2 separate regions of the Homo sapiens genome follow, and region 2 is linked to region 1. The links are contacts of gene promoters, found by promoter capture Hi-C in blood cells and fetal thymus (Javierre and others, 2016). All regions are on one chromosome and are shown on one strand. Each heading gives the region's core, a stretch centred on a gene start or on the middle of the fragment in contact. The rest is flanking DNA. Distances are from core to core; before and after follow the strand shown.

Region 1 (6,237 bases), core at 558-3,057:
CATGCTAACATTGCATCATTTAGAGATCCAAGGAGAGCCACCCGGGAACCCCCAGAAGAATGTGCAAATAAGATGCAGTGACTCTAGAGGATGTATTCCCAGCAAGATGCCTCAAACCTGCATCCCCTGTGATAAGCCCACTATATCATTTCATTTAATTTGTCACTGGAAACCAAAGGAGGAATTGTTCCAGGTGATTGACAGTAATTAGAGGGAACTTCCACCTCTGGTTAGGAAGATGTCAAAAAAAAAAGAGCTGCACACTTTGACCCTCTAAGTGGCTGGATTGGCAGATTTGGGGAAGGGGAGAGAGTGGGATGAGGTCCCTAATTGTAAAGTGGGTCTGGGTGAATGGGGTACACAGAGAAGCCTATGTAAAAGAGATTGCATACGTAAAGTGCTCGGACATCAGTGTCCCCACTGGGCTTGTGTCGCTGCTCACGTACACCAGTTCCAGGCCACCCCCACCCCACCCCCACACTCACTGCAGCATCTCTAGCCTGCCTGAATCCTGGTTCCGTGGAGGTCAAGGTGATTTGAGCTCACTTCCCTGTCCATGGTTCTACTAATTCTGTTTTCAACTTCTCACCCACCAGTCCACATTCTCCTCTTTTTACTAACATTTCCTTCTCCCAAAAGGCTGCTTCCATCCCACCTGGTTCCTTTCTGCTGTCCAGAACCTCCCCAAGCATACAGGTCTCAGCTTTTTCACAACTGGCAACATTACACTCCCAAAGAAGCCCCTCCATTAGAGAAACCAGTATGATTTCTTCTTCCAAATAAATGCACTCAAGGTGCTTAGGGGCTAGAGAGTGTAATTCTAGCTTTTATATCTGTTTTGCTCAATCACAGAAGTTTAACACTCAAGGTTGGGTGGGATCTTGAAGGTCATCTGAACAACCACACCAGCTGATGGAGGAATCCACTTCACAAATGCCAGCCTTGGAACAAGCCCAGCTGTAAAGAACTTGAAGAACCTTGGAAGGTATTTACCTTCTAAGTCAGTAAATAGCATTGCTGTCTTTTAGCCCTTTTAAAGGACATAGACAATTTACAGAATGAGTAAATAAATGAACAAAAGAATGGACAGCAGTAGTAAAGACATAGGAGCAGATACAGTGTAACAAAGCCACTATTCCTGAGACTGGGCTAGCCATCCTAGCCAGGAGGTGTTCATCGTCACCTGGCTGTGGACAGCTCCAGCAGGGACAACCAGGAGACTAAAATATTTCTAGGAGCAGGTGACATCCAGCATTCAGACATAACCCCCTCCTGAGTACCCAGAAACTGCTAGTATTTCTTTGACCCCATATCCACAAGCTCTCCACATGCATGCCGCCCTCAACATAAGCCTTGGGTACCTTTCTTACCTGTGGTTACAGAAGAAAACAGGTCATTGAAAGGATGCAGAGAACCAGCCTGGCTTGGAGATTCTGGGCAGCTGACAAAAGTCACCCCAGAAATAGAGTGGCAGGTACAGAATAGAGCTCAGTCACTTCATTTCATGGTCAAACAGAGGCTGAAGAGTGAGGGTTTAGGAGACACCCCGTCGAGCAGAAGACTTACATGAGAGGCATTTGGCTTCCCGGGGACAGCTGGGCAAGCTCTGCAGAGAGGTGGGTTTTCCTGGGGCTGTCCAGCTCTGGCAGCCAGAACGGCTTCATGCAGGTGCCACTGAGGACAGCCCAGGCAGCCCAGCACAAGCGATTCTGCAGGTGAAACCCAAGCCTGGCCCCAGGAGGGGATGAGGGCTCAGCACACAAGCACACAGGCTCACGCTGTTCTCTCTCTCTCTCACACACACACACACATACACACACACACACACACACACAGCCTCTCTGGAGGGGAAGGAGGAGGAGCCTGTGACTCTCCAGCCTATGTCCGGTGGGGACAGATGCAGCTCTGTCCAGTCACCACGATGCTCCCTTCCCTGCTCTCTGGACCCCTGGGCTCCAGGATCACTGCCTGGGGCCCCTGAGTGCACCCACAGGTTCTGGGTCCTGGGTCCTGGGTCTGTCTGTCAATACAGCTTCACTGTATGTGAATCCACTTCACAAATTCCAGCCTTGGAACAAGCCCAGCTGTAAAGAACTTGAAGAACCTTGGAATGTATTTACCTTCTAAGTCAGTAAATAGCATCGGAAAAATTGGAGTAAGGACAGAGCTGCCAGCCAGCCCACGGTTCTCTCCTTGCCCTCCTCCCCTGTGAGACCCCTCCCCCCACCACCCTAGAGGACCACCGGTCACTTGCGCGGCCACCCGGTGTGGCTGCTTCTCTGTCACCCCGTCAGCCTCCTTGCAGGTGACCTTGCCTTTGATTTTCCGGTGAAGCCTCCTTTTCTCTAGTATCAGATGAGTACTCCTGTCTCCTCCTGTGCATGGCGAATCCTGGCCCACTGTGATCTTGACATCACCCCATCTATTAACAGCCTGGGCTTTCTCAGATCCTCCCTCTCTGCCCCACTCGTTCCTTCCCTTCAGCCCCTAAAGAAGCTCATCCTCCACCCTAAAAACACTCTGCTTTCGGCCTTTCCCTCAAGCTACTTGCTAGCTCATCTCCCTTATTTTGTTAAAAGCAAAGGCCCTGGACATGACCCGGCCACAGACTGCTGAGGCTGAATTTCTAGCTCTGCTCTTGAACAGCTGCATAATCCTGGACAGGCCTCTTCAGCTTCCTATGCCTCAGTTTCCTCAGATGTAAAAAGAGGATGTGAACAATGGCTCCTGCCTCATAGGTTTACTATGAGGAGTCAATTAGCACAAATAAACACAAACACACACGTGCATTGTGTGTACACATGTGCATGCGATTGCTAGAATCATCTTTTGAGAGAATTAAAAGACATAAAATACCAAAAAACCATAAACACTCATATTTCCACTATTCATAATTAATAAATGTTAATATTTTACCATATTTACATATATATAAAGTTAGATGTATACATTTTTCATTTGGAGACTGAAGGAAGGAAGGAAGGGAAGGAGGGAAGAAATAAGAAAAAAGAAAAGAAAGGAAAGGAAAGGAAAGAAAAGAAAAGAAAATCACAGCTTGTATCCATCAGGATTCTTGGTTGCAAGCAATAAAAACCTACCAATTACTTTAAGTGGAGAATGGTTTTATTGAGGAACAACGGGTGGTTCACAGAAGCACCTAGAAATCTGGAGGGGCTGCTTGGAGAGCAGGGAGAAGAGGGAAGCCTCTGCCCCGCGGCCAGCATGGTGGGTCCTGCTGCTACAGAGCTGCATGTGAACCTGGCACCGTCATGGGTGCCGCTGTCACCGCTGTCCCTGGAAGCAGCCATCCCTGCTGCTGCCACCGCTGCCACAGTTAATTCTCCTCCAGCCCTGCTCCTTTGTGTCACTAGCTCTGCATACAAAGGTCGAAACAGATGCATCTGATTAAAGCATGTGCTCCCAAACCAGATGCCAGGAAGGCCAAGGAAGCAGGAATCTGGGGTTTTGAGCTTCTATGTGGAAGGTGGGCTCTGCCCACTTCAAGAGGGGGGACATTCCTGAAATATTTGAAAGTTGTTTCAATGCTGGAAAGCACCCCCCTCCCCGCCACACGAAATCTAGCTCTTTGGCTCCTAACATCAGTGCACACTCGACTTTCCATCATCACACTTTGAAAAAAAATGTTTACATCTAATTGTCCTAAAATTTTCACCCAGAATTTGTTTTAATCAGGTTTGGTAAGACATGCAGACACAGAAGTGACTGTCATAAAGGAAGGAGTTTATACTCACAGATCCCTAGAAACAGGAGGGGTGGCACATTCCCGCAGGGCCACACAGAGCAGCACCAGGGAGTGTCAGGAGGTGGAGGGCACAATGTGGGAAGCCTGGCCCCGAGCCTTTATGAGGTTTCCCCGGGAAAACCAGGGCAGTGCAAGGAAGCAGCTTGCGATGAGATAGTTGGAATAATCTTGGTGGGCTCTGAGCTATAGGGATGGTCTCTAATTGCCCAGTACCTAGCTCTGAGGTGATTTGTGGCAGGAGGAATACTGGCTCGGTGTGTGAGAGTTAGACAAATGGTGCTGTTGGGGATACTGAGTCAAGATTAGGCAGAGGGCTTGTACTATAACTGTAGTGCACCTGCAAAAGCTGATTGCAGGGGAGATGTAACAAAGTTGGCTGTTAGTTTGGCCGTGCATATAGTGGATGCCAAACATACAAATGTAGAATCTAGCAGAATGCAACCATTCCTCACACAAGCAAAAAGCCTCCCCCTAACCCCACCCTAACTCCACAGGGATAGAACCCCAAGTCTCACCAGTGACCATCCAGCTCCAAGTCCAGCCTCCTGCTCTAATTCCTGACACATGTGCCACCTTGAAATTCTGTTTTCTATGGAATAAATCATAACGTTCACTCAAAATACACACATAGAAAGTAATGGGGTGGGCAGAATATGAAATAAATTAGCAAAGCCAGTAAGAAAATACAGACAGGTACAGTGCTCATTGTAGTAATAGATCATGAGGTTAGAGTGGGTATGTATTGGTTTCCTCTCCAGCCATTCTCCAGAATAAGCATCTACTGTATTCCACAAAAGCCAGATTGCTGCCTTCTCAAGCATATAAGGCATTCACTACAATCAACTTGCCACCAAGTGAATAATTTGAACCTCTGGGCTCTGCCAGCACATCCAGAGACCAGGGTTTGCCACTACTGCTGGGAAGATGAGCATTCGGGCCACATTGGGAACAGCTTCTGTAATCGGAATCACTTAAGTTTACAATGAACCACTGACATTCTATGAGACCCATCTACCTTAGGTAGCATTTGGAGATCATCAAAATTACCACTTCTGCATCCTTACAGCCTTTGCTGGTGGCCCTAATCCTTGGGATTCCTCTGGAGACATTGTATTAATTGCATTTATGGTTTTGTTAGGTAGGGGGCACTACACAGCTTCCTCTTGCTTCCTCCTTCAGCAGACAGATGATGGACATGTGCCATTGATAGGTTTGGATTTGTGTTGCCACCTAAATCGCGTGTTAAATTGTAATCCCCAATGTTGGAGGTGGGGTGTGGTGGAAGGTGACTGGATCGTAAGGGTGGATTTCTCCCTTGCTCTTCTCATGATAGTGAGTGAGTTCTCACAGGATCTGGTGTTTAAGAGAGTGTAGAATCTCCCCCTTCTCTCTTCTTCCTTCTGTTGTAGCAATGTGAAGACGTGCCTGCTTCCCCTTTGCTTTCTGCCATAACCGTAAGTTTCCTGAGGCCTCCCCAGCCATGCTTCCTGTACAGCCTGCAAACCGTGAGCCAATTAAGACTCTTTTCTTTATAAATTACCCAGTCTCAGGTATTTACAGCAATGTGAGGATGGACTAATACAGCCATGCACTGAGAAGTTTCCCTAACTCTAACCTTCGGACTGAAGGTTCAAACCACTTCCTGCACTTTCCTGTAATTGAGATGATGGTTCTTCCTCACCAATGCACCTCTCAAGGTCTTGGAAAAAGAGGTCTCTGATGAGTCCTTCCACATCAGGAGGAAGGCGAGCAGGTCATATATTAAGAAATCCATTCCAATATTCCTGTTCCTCCAAGTCTTCCATTACATTGAACTAATTTCTGGTATCTCATCTTCACTTTGCATGGACTACCAGTTGAGCAAACTGTGAGTACTTTCTCCAGCTGTTCGACTTTGTAGACTAAACCCAAATCTTTAGAAAGCACACCCCTGTCAGCCAAACTCCACTTCAACTTTCTGTCCTTGGTCTAGGACCTCAAGAGTCTATTCCTGTGTATATTCACCAGATTGTGACCACAAACAAGCAGAATCTTGCAGACTTGGGGTGTGTTTTACGTTTCTTCTCAGGTTTTCCCATGCCCCACCTGCCAGGACATGTAGGGATCTGACTCTAGTTGAAGTCTAGAGGCAGGGAGGGGGTGGATCATGAAGAAAACTGGTTTACCTGGGGTGTGTGGTGTATCCTTCAGGCAAGGATGTGACAGGATTTTCAGCTTAGGCAGGAACAGGCTCATCAGGCAGAGAAAGAGAAACATTTTTCATTGGTAAGGAAGGCTCCATGGCATTTATCATGGAAACCTTCCCAATTCATTTTGTTGTTGTTGCTGTTGCTGTTGAGATGGAGTTTCGCTCTTGCTGCCCAGGCTGGAGTGCCATGGTGCGATCTCGGCTCAGCACAACCTCTGCCTCCCGAGTTCAAGCGATTCTCCTGCCTCAGCCTCCCGAGTCACTGGGATTACGGGCATGCGCCACA
Region 2 (6,237 bases), core at 2,120-4,619, 180 kb before region 1:
ATAAAACCATAAATGTAATGAAAGAAAAAGCAAATAAATATTTCTCAGCTTGGAATAAGAAAGACATTCCTCGGCACAGTATGAAACTGAGAAGCCTTGAAGAAAGAATGAGATAACTGAATACACAGAAAAATAAGAGGTGTGTATGGCAAGAGACTATCATAAAGTTAAAGACAAAAATACAATTCCATGACAACTGTTGGAAAAACCATTCAAAATGTGTGCTGTGGCAATGGCAGGTTAGTAAACTCATCTTTGGACTGAAAGTTAAATACAGATGCTCCTCAAGTTATGATGGGGTTACATCCCAATAAACCCATCATAAGTTGAAAAATAGTTAAGTCAAAGCAATGAATACACCTAACCTACTAAAAACATCATAGGTTAGCCTAGCCTACCTTAAACGTGCCCAGGACACTCACATTAGCCTACACTTGGGCAGAATCATCCAACACAAAGCCTATGTCATAATAAAGCACTGAGTGTCTCATGTAATTTATTGAATACTGTACTGAAGGGGAAAAACAGAATGGTTGTATGGGTACTCAAAGTACAGTTTCTACTGAATGCATATTGCTTTCGTACCACAGTAAAGTCAAAAAATCATAAGCCAGGGACTGTGTGTATGTTTACAGCTCTGAAAATATACGAAAAGGATTCACTGAAAAAATGAAAATGGCCAAAAAAATTGAGAATGATCCACTCAAAAAGAAATGACAAACTAGGAAATATATTTGCAACATTTATGACAAATGGCTATTATTATTAATGTACAAAGCACTCTTACAAATCCACTAAGAGAAAAGACAAATATTCCAAGGGAAAAAAAGAATGTGAATTAGCATTCACAGAAGAAGCATAAATGACTATTATGCTTGTGAAAAGATGTACAAACTTACCAATAATCAAAGAAATGCAAATGAGGACAAACAGCATGGTTAACCTATCAGGCTGAAAAGACTGATAATGTCTGCATTGGAGAGAGTAGAATCCAGGGTGATTCTCTTTTTTTTTTTTTTTTTTTACATTTAAGTTCCAGGATACATGTGCAGGACATGCAGGTTTGTTACATAGGTAAATGTGCGCCATGGTGGTCTGCTGCACCTGTCAACCCATCACCTAGGCATTAAGCCCCGCATGCATTAGCTATTTATCCTGATGCTCTCCCTCTCCCCAGTAATTCTTATCACACAAAAACATCAAGAACACAGCATGGCAGGAAAAACCAGCAAGTGCAAGGTCAACTCCTGCCCACTCACCGTGGGCAATGACGGCCTCACTGTAAAGGAACAAACACCAGAACTTTCACTTTCCTCATCGACCTGATAACTGAATTTAATAGAAAAAGTACTAATCAGGCTGGAATTCTAGGGGCTTCCCATGTGACCTCATTACCCTTAGCCTCAGCAAAAAGCTCAGGACTCCTACACTCCCTGGGATGGGCAGGCAGTGCCACCACACAGACAGACAGATACTCCCTAAGTATCCCCAACCCAGTCCTGTACAAGGCAAGCCAGTCATATGGCTTTAGCCACAGAAGGAAACCAAGTAAGAGAACAATGATAAAGCTACATGACTCCACGATGACTACTGGAAAAACAACTCAACAAACTCCAGCAACAGCAGGTTCGTAATCGCTATTTGGAGTTGGAATTTCAACATGTATTTATGGCTCTGACATCGGATGACAAAATAATCTACTGAACAAAGTGAAAACTCTCTCCCACCAGTTTGTTGGTCTATTAGACATCAGAAATGTTAAGGACTTGTCTCTGTTGGGCACTTGTATGCATTATCTTATCTAAATTTTTTTTTAAAAACCCTAGTAAAAGGGAATTGCCCTCTTTTTACAGAGGAGGGGATTAGCTTGGAGGGGGTTGAGGGATTTGCTGGGGAACTGGGCTTAGATTTGGAAATAGGTCTGCTTTGCGGTTACTGCCCTGGCACCCAGTGTGTCACATAATCCTTTCTTCCACACTGTTCCACCAGCTCTGTGGCTCAGGGTAAACTCCACAGCCAAATGTTAATGAGGCTCTTTCCTGGGACTAATCCTCACCTATGGACACATGGTGGAGGGGACCGCAGGCTCCTGAGGACAGCGCCCAGCAACCTGGACCAGGCATGGCTCAGCTGTGGCTAAGATGAGTCTAACAGAGTGGTAATTACTAGAAGCAACCACTTCAGAAAGCCAAAGACCAGAGCCAAGATCAACAGTCAGAAACAAGGTTGCCAATCCACACAGGACCTGGAGGAAGAGAGGGTGCCAGGCAGAACAACCAGAATGGGGACAGAGGGAGCCCACTCATTCATTTGATTAACAGTTATTGGTCACCTACCCACTTCACTCATTCAATCAACAATTTTTATTGGTCACCTATTGTGTGCCAAGAACTCCTCTAGATAACTGGCAATAGTGTGCCCTGTTTTCATTATATTTTGACAGGAAGGGATAAAAAGCAAATAGAAAACAAAAGGTAATTACAGGTAATGAAGTGTCATTAAGAAAATAAACCAGGAAATTATGCCATCGAGTAAAAGAGGAGGATGATCAGGAAAAGCTTCTTTAAGAGAACATCTGAGCTGAGATTTTAATGGCAAAGATGCTGGGCATGTGTTCTGGGGAGAAGACTTAGTTTGCTTAAGGGACAGAAAGAAGGTGAGGCAGAGAAGTAAATGAGGTTGAGGATAGGCAGGGTCAGGAGATGGCCTTGGAGGCCATGGTAAGGAATCTGGGTGGTACTGAGGGTGACTGGAAGCCACTGGCAGTTTTAAGCAGAGGAGGGGCACGGCTGGTGTTTTTTTCTAAACGATCACCCCAGTCCATGGAAAGGAGAATGCACAAGAATGAAAGCATGAGGCCCTAGGCAGGAGGCCCAGTGAGAGATGATGATGACCTGGACCAAAAGGTGGAGGGTTTTACAGAAATAACATACTTTGGAGATAGGGGAATAGGATTGCTGATGGAGTGGATGTGGGAACTGAAAGAAAACAAGAAAGTACATGAGTCCCAGGTCATCATTGAACACACAGGTGGCAGTGATATGATGCATGTGCCATAGTGCAGATGGTGTTGGTAGCTTTTTAAGTCACTCCTGTGGCTGCTGGCATGACCACGCCTGGGTCTTTAGAGGGGCCAAGGCAGAGAAGCCACAGTCAGCATCCAGGACGTGGCTGCACAGGACCATCAGAGGTAAGGCAGCCGACCTCTACCCAGCGGGTTATGTGAGCCAAAGCCACGGCTGACACATCTTCACTCCTCCCCAGACTGCCCTGAGTGGACCCAATCTTCCCACTTGGCCCCATCGTTCGCTCACCTGATTGTGCTTGGCGATGGCCTCATAGGAGCGCCGCATGGCCCAGAAGGCCTTGGCCTTCTCCCGCAGTGCATGCTCCATGTTCCTGCACTTGGCCTGACATGGGAATGAGAGAGAGGGAGGAAGACAGGTTAGGGCTGGAGGCTGGGCAGAGAGGGCAGACACATCACATTTACAACTGGGACTCCACTTCAACACAAGTGTAACTCAACTGCATTTGCCTAACCCCATCCATGCCAAGTGCTCTGGGCACAAATGGTAAGTAAGGTCCTGATCCTGAATCAGACATCCATGGGATAAAGAGCCCTCAGACATCCTGTAGCCCAGCCTGGTACAGACTGGGAGATGGGGCTGAGAAGAAGCAAGCTGCTCTCTCTCATGTTGGTCACAGCACAGGCCAGAAGAGTGTCCCATGTGGGCCAAAAGCTGGTTCATGCTGGGTCTGAATCCCTGAGCTGTGTGGACAACTGCAGACAGTGTGGTCATAGGTTCCCTCTGCAGTTTCCTAAACTGAATGGGTCTGCAATCTCTAATGTGAGGTGACTGACAATGGGGGTGGAGCCAGTCATTTCCCACGGGGTTCAGTTACCTCCCATGAGGCCTCACCTCAACATGCCCAACATGCCCCTCCATACCCCTCCTGCATCCTGACATTCTAACACTGCTTGTATCGCACGGAATACTTTAATCAGCAGGCACAAATACTTTTGGTTTAGTAGTTTTTGTTTCTTAAACTTTAATGATTGTTTCTGATGTCCTTGGACAACTTGAAGAACCACTAGAGTGTTTTAGGTTGGATTCCTGCCTCTTGTATCTTAGGCCTATCATTTTTTCTCCCTCATTATCCTTTTCGATCTACATTCTCAGAAAGCTTCTCAAGTTTTTTCTTAAGAAAAATAATTCAAATAATTATAAATGGTTATCATTTATTCAGTACTTACTCTGTGCCAGGGACAACACCAATTACTTGAGAAATTATGTCATTTAATCATTACTTCTCCCTAGTAGATAAGTAATATTATTGGCCCCATTTATAGATGAGAAAGTGAGGCACAGAAGGGAAATGACCAGCCCAAGGGCACACAGCTAGTATGTGGAAGGACGTGAACCTGGACAGCTATGGAGGCAGCTGCTGAGACAGCACCCAGTGATCCCTCCCTCCTGTGAGATGAGAGTGTTTTAAGCTGCTAAATGTCGGGGTGACTGGATATGCAGCAATAAATTATACAGATGTGTCGCCCAAAGCCTCATTCCCATCTGGACCTGATTTAGATGACAAATCTGGACTTTGGGCTGATGCTGTAAAGGGATGAGATGTTTGGAGAGCTTGGGAGAGGGCCAGTGCATTTTGCATGTGGGAGGGACATGACTCCTTATGGGGCAAAGGACAGATTCAGGCAGGCAGCCTCTAAAGTGGCCCCAGTGACCCTCACCTCCTGATACTCATGCTCTTGTGAAATCCCCTCCTCTGTGGGTGACTTGTTTCTAACCAAAAGAATGTGGCAAGTGATACTAAGTCACCTCTGAGGTTAGGCGACAAAGGCTGTGTACACCCTGCCTTCCTCTCTCTAGCTTGCTCACTGGGATGGTAGCCAGCTGCCCATGTGGTAATTTGCCCTGGGAGTGACTGCTGGGGCAAGAAACTGAGAGTGGCTTCTGACCTACAGCCAGTGAGGGACTCAGGCTCTCAGGCTAACAGCCCGTGAAGACCTGAATCCTGCCAACAACTACAAATGTGAGTGTAAATAAGGATCCTGCCCTAGCTGAGCCTTCAGATGAGACCACAGCTCCATACCTACAGCCCCTCATGACAGACCTTGAGGCAGAGGCACCCAGAGCTAAGGCAGGCCCAATTCCTGACCCACAGAAACTCAAAGATAATAAATGTTTGTTTTAAGGCACTAAGTTTTGGGCAATTTGCTAGGAAATAGAGAACTAGCCCATTGGTTAGAACTAGCCCACAGAACCCTGACTGCAGCCCCTCATGAGACACCTTGAGGCAGAGGCACCCAGAGCTAAGGCAGGCCCAATTCCTGACCCAAAGAAACTCAAAGATAATTAATGTTTGTTTTAAGGCACTAAGTTTTGGGGCAATTTGCTAGGAAATAGAGAACTAGCCCATTTGTCCCACTCAGTAGCCCATTCCTTTAAGTCTTTCACTACAGAAAACAAAATGGTTACTGATTTCATTTTCTGCAGTTCTGTTTTATTTTCAACTCATTTTGATCTTTTAATCTTAAGTGACAATATTTAAGATTTTTAAACTTTGTTTTCTGTAGTATATCATCTCTAATTTGCATGAGTGCCCCCACAAAACCACTGAAATGTCATTCCAATGTTTTATTTTATAGAATGAGATTTTTGATACAAAATCATGTAATACAGTTCAAAAGGAAAATTTAGTGATTTGCCAAATTAGTTAAGTGACAGGAGTGAAGCAGCTGTCCATACGCATTACCCAAAGGTGTGCAGGCCCCAAAACAACACAGTTCAGCCCCTGCCCTTCAACCCTGGCCCTTAGGAATTTATGGGACAATAAGGATGGGAAGGGGATAGTCCCTTGATCTTCTCAAACTTTTCAATCACTTGGAGAGTTCTGGTTTCCTTCAGAAAAGACCAATCCTAAAATGGCCCTTCTCTGAGATGTCAGCTGATGAGACTAACCAACAATTATATTACTATTGCTAGCAAGCAGTTACTATTAAGCATGTACTAGACACAAGGCACTAAATTATGCACTTTACAAACATTCTATTTAATTCAATTATTTAATTCGAATTCTCCCTATAAGGTTAAGCACTGTGAGTCCCATTATACAGAGGATCAAGTTAGACCCAGAGGAGGTAACCTTCTTGTACATGTCTCCTGGGGACACATGGGAACTCGTTTCTTCATAATATATTCCTGGGGATAAAACTGCTGG

What was found. The method cuts DNA at HindIII sites, captures the fragments that hold promoters and counts their contacts. A CHiCAGO score of 5 or more calls a contact.
Region 2: a fragment that was not itself captured here is called in contact with the fragment with the promoter of CHRNA2 in region 1 in 2 of 17 cell types (fetal thymus and naive CD8 T cells); the score reaches 5.7 in fetal thymus.

What each region holds. Positions count from the first base shown.
Region 1 is chr8:27,477,454-27,483,690 of GRCh38, forward strand. CHRNA2 (cholinergic receptor nicotinic alpha 2 subunit) reads right to left here and starts at 1,808. Exons shown (of 7, transcript NM_000742.4): 1 at 1,371-1,808. The HindIII fragment of the contact is 14,056 bases long and covers 1-6,237 here.
Region 2 is chr8:27,295,150-27,301,386 of GRCh38, forward strand. It overlaps TRIM35 (tripartite motif containing 35), which reads right to left. Exons shown (of 6, transcript NM_171982.5): 2 at 3,315-3,410. Among named protein-coding and RNA genes, the nearest start is that of TRIM35, 13 kb to the right of the region's middle. The HindIII fragment of the contact is 1,627 bases long and covers 2,557-4,183 here.